Regions from separate parts of the Homo sapiens genome. Here region 2 is linked to region 1. Evidence: promoter capture Hi-C in 16 types of primary human blood cells and fetal thymus (Javierre and others, 2016). All regions are on one chromosome and are shown on one strand. The core of a region is centred on a gene start or on the middle of the fragment in contact, and the rest is flanking DNA. Distances in the headings are between cores, read along the strand shown.

Evidence for each region. Contacts are between HindIII fragments. The CHiCAGO score rates a contact against its expected background, and 5 or more counts as called.
Region 2: a contact is called between a fragment that was not itself captured here and the fragment with the promoter of ZNF684 in region 1, in 1 of 17 cell types (neutrophils). The highest score is 5.4, in neutrophils.

The regions. Positions count from the first base shown.
Region 1 is chr1:40,529,584-40,532,924 of GRCh38, forward strand. It overlaps ZNF684 (zinc finger protein 684), which reads left to right and starts at 2,054. Exons shown (of 5, transcript NM_152373.4): 1 at 2,054-2,204. LOC124904149 (a long non-coding RNA gene) reads right to left here and starts at 1,963. Exons shown (of 2, transcript XR_007066022.1): 1 at 1,905-1,963; 2 at 995-1,772. RefSeq lists an enhancer at 1,854-2,148. The HindIII fragment of the contact is 2,309 bases long and covers 908-3,216 here.
Region 2 is chr1:39,981,686-39,985,026 of GRCh38, forward strand. No RefSeq gene overlaps it. Among named protein-coding and RNA genes, the nearest start is that of MFSD2A, 28 kb to the left of the region's middle. The HindIII fragment of the contact is 9,070 bases long and covers 1-3,341 here.

The DNA.
Region 1 (3,341 bases), core at 804-3,303:
AGAAAATGCTAGTAAAGTCAGTGGGTACTAATATCACTTGATCTTAGCCAAAAGGCTGAGAAGCGATAATGGCTACTAATATCAAGCCAGTTCTTAATGGTGCCAGGCAATAGTACTACATTTCCTTAATCTATTCACTTGCTCACATTCATAAATCATACTTTATCGAATCTCAGATGCCATTGATTATAAGTTGTATTATTATTTTATATACTAATAAAAAACAATGCTCCTGATTAAACTATGGAATGCCATCACTTGTAAGACAGCAATTTCACAGATGTTAAAATATGAAAAAATCATGTTTCAAAATCATCATAATACGGTATTCATCTTTTCTGTCAAGTCTAAAATACTTTCCCCCTATCTTCATTTCAGCTTCCTATTTCACTGGGAAAATAGAAGCACTCAGAACAGGGCATCCTCTTTCTCCTACCACCATATTTGTCCACCTGTTTGGATCTGTACTTATAAACTCTGCCTCCCCTTTTATTTCAATGGAGATGAATTATCCATACTCTTACTTAGAATGATCCCTGTGATTGTGTACTGGATTCCATCCCTTCTCTTCTCAAGGACATTCCTCCGAGTAACTAGCCTGTCTATCCTGAATTGTGTATTTCCCGCCTCTACTGGATCTTTTGTTTTATTTTATTAACTAATTCATTTATTTGAGACAGAGCCTCGCTCTGTCGCCCAGGCTGGAGTGCAGTGGTGTGATCTCGGCTCACTGCAACCTCTGCCTCCCGGGTTCAAGTGATTCTCCCGCCTCAGCCTCCCAGGTAGCTGGGTTTACAGGCGTCTGCCACCACGCCCGGCTAATTTTTGTATTTTTAGTAGAGACGGGGTTTCACCACGTTGGCCAGGCTGGTCTCCAACTCCTGACCTCAGGTGATCTGCCCACCTAAGCTTCCCAAAGTGCTGGGATTACAGGCGTGAGCCACTGCGCCCAGCCTAGATCCTTTTAATTAGTACATAAACTTACTATAATTTCTTCCATCTTTTTTATTTTATTTTTTTGAGACAGAGACTAGCTCTGTCGCCCATGCTGCAGTGCAGTGGCGGGATCACGGCTCACTGCAGTCTCTACTGTCTGGGCTCAAGCGATCCTCCCATCTCAGCCTCTCAAGTAGTTGGGACTTCAGGCGGGTGCCATGCCAGGCTAGTTTTTTATTTTTTGTAGAGATGAGGGTCTCACTATGTTGCCTAGGCAGTTTCAGACTCCTGGGCTCAACCAATCCTCCCACTTTGGCCTCCTGAAATGTTAGGATTACAGGCATAAGCCACCACACTCAGCCCCATCTTTGAATTAAAAAAAAAAAAAAAATTAGAACGTGGAAAAACGCAACAACAAAAGATTAACAAAATCCCTATCCCATGATAGCCTTATTTTTCTGCTCACCTTAAAAACAAAACTTCTTAAAAGTATTGCGTATATTTGCTTTCTCCATTTCCTCTCCTCCCATCCTTCCCTCCAACTCCTATCAAATTTTCATCAGACTTTATCAAACTTCCACCACTGCCAAAATGGCGTTTCAACATCACTGGTGACCATTGCTACAGTGGCCCATTCTTAATTCTCATTTTACTTGACCTATGAGCAACATTTGAGACAATGGGTCACTCCCTTCTTGAAACACTTCCTTCCCTTGGTTTTGCAGATCTAAACTCTCCTACTTTTCCATCTACTTCATGGATTATTCCTTCTCAGTCTTCTTTGTTGGATCCTCTTCACCTCTCCGACTTAACCTGGTGCATTGCTAGAAGAAACCCTGCTGAGTAAGAGCAAATTGTTTTTAGCATACCGCCGATTTTACTTTCCAGTATTTAAAAATGCTGTGTATCCTTTTAAATGAAAACGACTTAAAAAGCGTGGCTCTCAGGCTAGCAATAGAGATACCAACCCGGGAATCTCCGCACCACCCCCCAAGAGGAAGCAGCGTCTGACGTCTTCCGGAAACGAGCTCCACTGGCCTTATGGGAAATGTGGTCTCCGACGGATGGCCTACACCCGGGAGGAGTCCAGGAACTCTAGGTGGACAGTTACTTCCGCACACGCGTAGTAGGACGGTAGCCGGTATTCAATCTTCAAATCAGCGCCGCGGGAAGTGCGGGCGGGTGTTGCTCCCCTGTCTCTGGACGACGCTGTGACTGATCCCAGGCTTGGAGCCGGAGCTGCGAGCGAGGCAGTGAAAGGGTGGCAGGTATGGCTTTGCTGGACTCGGAGGACGTAAGAGAAAGGCGGGGACTGGCTTCTAGGTTTACCCTACCGAAGATAAAACTTTAGTCTCCAAGCGCAGTGACTTCAGGTTTGGATATGTGGGTCCTGTTCAACTCGAGTAGCTGAGAGAAAGCAAGAGTTGGGCTCCGACTGGCACTGGGTAGATGTCCAGGGCTCTGGTGGGACTGGGAGAGGCTCAATTTGCATTCCTGCTCTTGTAGGTCAAGGTCACTATGTAGGAGTCTGTTCATCTAACTGTACCTTTCCTGGTTCCAAGAGCATAGTTGGCCCGACTGGAGCCTGCGACAATTTTAAGCCGTGTCAAGGGATCCAGTGGAAACTGTAAGCTATTTCAAGGGATCCAGGAAGAAAGCATTCTTGAGAAACTGCTATGGATTAGAAGGGTATTCTCAGCAATCATTTGAAGTAAATGCTATTACCATTTTGCATATGAGTTAACTGAAGCTGAAAGGTGAAATTACTTGCCTGGACTCACACAGCTTAGTAAGTGGAAGAACTGAGATTCAAACTCAGATACATTTTCTCCAAATTTCTTTTTTTTTTTTTTTACAGTATAGCATTCCTGCATAAAACAGAGTTGGGTTTATTCTCCTGAAATGTTTGAGCAATGAATGCTGAGTAAATTTCGATTTGTAGTCATTTTGTAGAGTCTCTTGGTGTATCTGCAGATCTTCCAGTGCAGACTGTGTAAATGAAGATGTGAGTCCCCGGTTTGCCCATTATACCCTTTCTAGAGCCCCAGCAGTTCTAAGCTCATAGGAGATGGCGAGTTTCTACAGAGAGAAACATTTGGAGTTTAAACTGAAGGATCCAGCTTAACAAAAAAAAAATAAAAAAAAGTGTTCCTGGGTCCCTGAATCCAGCCTTCTCAAGAAAGCCCAACCTAATTTGCAATCTCTTATCCCAGCGTCAGAGTAGAAACCAGAGAATCACAGGAAGGAATCATTTTTAGACTTACGGAGCTTCAGAGACCAAGCTTTTAAGTGAGTCAACTCATTCATTATTTCTTCAGGATAAATTTCTGGGAGGAAAAAAAATAACTGTTTCAAGAGGAACCACTTGGTGCTAGATCAGTAGGACAGAAACATATAACATCCTT
Region 2 (3,341 bases), core at 476-2,975, 550 kb before region 1:
GTAGTGTGACCATGGCTCACTGCAACCTCGAAATCCTGTGCTCAACAAATCCTCCTGCCTCAGCATCCTGAGTAGCTGGGACTAGAGGCGTGCCACCTTGCCCAGCTAATTATTTTATTTTTTGTAGAGACAGGGTCTCCCTATGTTGTCCAAGTTGGTCTTAACTGCTGAGCTCAAGTGACCCTCCCTCCTTGGCCTCCCAAAGTACTGAGATTACAGATGTGAACCACCTCCTGGCCTGTCCGTTTCTTAAGAACCAAGACTTTTGTCCTGTGTCCTTCCCTCCCTTTTCACTGCCATCAGGGCTCAGACTCCAGAGCTAGTCCTCCAGCAATCTATGGCTTTCAGCAGATGGGTTTGGCCATTTCTGTTAACACAAAGGGACAACTCATAGTGTGGGAGGGGCTGTTCTACTCCTTGCTGTTCCTTAAAGGAGTAGCAGAGGCAGAGGACGAGACCTAGGCTGTCTAATCCAACCCCACCTGATGCGTGGATGCCTGTGGCTGCCTTCTGCTTGCTCATGCCTTTGGCAGCCAGCTCATTTTGGCTCAAGGCAGCCTGTTTCATTTGTGGAGAAGGGCATAAAAAAAGGTTTCCTTCATCTTGAAAGCTATCTCCTTGTGGCTTGTCCCCACAGATTCTAGATCCTCTCTTTGGCATCTGCACAATACAACCCTTCTCTTTGTCCCATGGAAGACCTGCATAAATTTGAAGACAGATCTTGTCCCTAGAAATGAGATCAAGGCCTGTCATTCTTCTAGTTATACTTGTTTTAGTAGTCTATAAAGACCAAGCATTTATTTTGCTTTTGTAATTAAAAATAAACAAAAAACTCCTTACTTTTCAATGTTTTATTGAGATATAATTTACATTCAGGAGGCTGGGCGCGGTGGCTCACGTCTGTAATCCCAGCACTTTGGGGAGGCCAAGGCGGCTGGATCACCTGAGGTCAGGAGTTCGAGACCAGCCTGGCTAACATGGTAAAACCCCGTCTCTACTAAAAATACAAAAATTAGCCGGGTATGGTGGTGCATGCCTGTAATCCCAGCAACTCGGGAGGCTGAGGCAGGAGAATTGTTTGAACCTGGGAGGCGGAGGTTGCAGTGAGCGGAGATCGCACCACTGTACTCCAGCCTGACAACAGAGTGAGACTCCGTCTCAAAAAAAAAAAAAAAAAAAGAAATCTTTACTTACCCCAATATCAAAAAAATTATCTTATGTTTTTATTTAGAAGTTGTTTTATTGTTGTTTTATACTTTTTTTATTTAGGTCTATGATCCACTCAAATTAATTTTTGTGTATAGTGTGAGTTAAGGGTCAGAGTTTATTTTTCTCTGTACTTATCCAATTATTCCAGCACCTTTTATTAAAAGGACGTCCCTCCCCTACTTGATTACAGTGGCATAAATCAAAAGAACCTATATGTGTAGGTCCATTTTTGGACTCTATTTTTTTTTTTTTTTTTTTTTTGAGACAGAGTCTTGCTCTGTCGCCTAAGCTGTAGTGCAATGGTGCGATCTCGGCTCAATGCAACCTCCATCTCCCGGGTTCAAGCAATTCTCCTGCCTCAGCCTCCCCAGTAGCCGGGATTACAGGCACACGCCACCACACCCGGCTAATTTTTGTATTTTTAGTAGAGGCGGAGTTTCACCATATTGGTCAGGCTGGTCTCAAACTCCTGACTTCAGGTGATCCACCTGCCTCGGCGTCCCAAAGTGCTGGGATTACAGGCATGAGCCACCGTGGCTGGCCCTGGACTCTTTATCCTGTTCAAGTGATCTACTCAGCTATTCTTACTCCAAGAGTCCCCTGTCTTAATTACTATAGATTTATATAGTAAATGTTGAAATTTGGTAGTGTAAGTCTTTCAACTTCAAGGTTTTGTTTTGTTTTGTTTTTGAGATGGAGTTTCACTCTCTCCCAGGCTGAAGTGCAATGGCGCGATCTTGGCTTATTGCAACCTCCACCTCCCAAGTTCAAGCGATTCTCCTGCCTCAGCCTCCCAAGTAGTTGGGACTACAGATGCCCGCCATCATGCCCAGCTAATTTTTTTGTACTTTAAGTAGATAGGGGGTTTCAGCATATTGGCTAGGTTGGTCTTGAACTCCTGACCTCAGGTGATCTGCCTGCCTTGGCCTCCCAAAGTGCTGGGATTACAGGTATGAGTCACCATGCCTGGCCAAACTTCAAGGTTTTTGGATTGTCCATATGTATTTTGGAATCAGCTTGTCAATGTATGCGTGTGCACACACACACACACACACATACACACACAGAATGTGCTGGGAGTTTGATGGAATTACACTGAATCTATGAACTAATTGGAAAAAACTGGCATCTTAACAATATTGAGTCTTCTAATTTATGAACATGAAATATCTGTCCATTTATTTAGGTCGTGTTTAATTTATGTCAAGAATGTCTTATAGAAACAGGCATGGTGGTGCATGCCCGTAGTCCCAGCTACTTGGGAGGCTGAGGCAGGAAGATCACCTGAGCCAGGGAGTTTGAGACCAGCCTGGCCAAAATAGTGAGACACTGTCTCTTAAAAAAGAGAGAGGGCCGGACGCGGTGGCTCACACCTGTAATCCCAGCACTTTGGGAGGCCAAGGCGGGTGGATCACAAGGTCAGGAGTTCGAGACCAGCCTGGCCAAGAAGGTGAAACCCCATATCTACTAAAAATACAAAAAATTAGCCGGGTGCAGTGGCAGGCGCCTGTAATCCCAGCTACTCGGGAGGCTGAGGCAGGAGAATCGCTTGAACTCGGAGGGCGGAGGTTGCAGTGAGCTGAGATCGCGCCACTGCACTCCAGCCTGAAAACAGAATGAGACTCTGTCTCAAAAAAAAAAAAAAAAGAGAGAGAGAGAATGTTTCAGGTTGAGGTCTTTTTTTTTTTCTTTGAACATTTATTATGATTCTTTTTACATTTTTTGTAGAGGTGGGGTCTTGCTATGTTGCCCAGGCTGGTCTCCAACTCCTGGGCTCAAGCAATTCTCCCACCTCAGACTCCCAAAGTGCTGGGATTATAGGCATGAGCCACCACTCCTGGCCACAGGTTAAAATCTCAAACATCTTTCAATAGATTTATTCCTAAGTATTTGATATTTTTGATACTGATGTAAATGATATTTTTTGTAAATTTCATTTTCTAATTTTTTTGTTGCTATTATAAAGAAATACATTTGTATGTTGATCTCATATCCAGTAGTCTTGCTAAATTCACATATTAATTATATGAAACCTCTACATTTTTAATTTTGAAAACATTTGCATTGATCTTAAAGTTCAAGCTAGTATTTTGATTATTTTAAAACTTCCTAGGCCGATGGGCGCAGTGGCT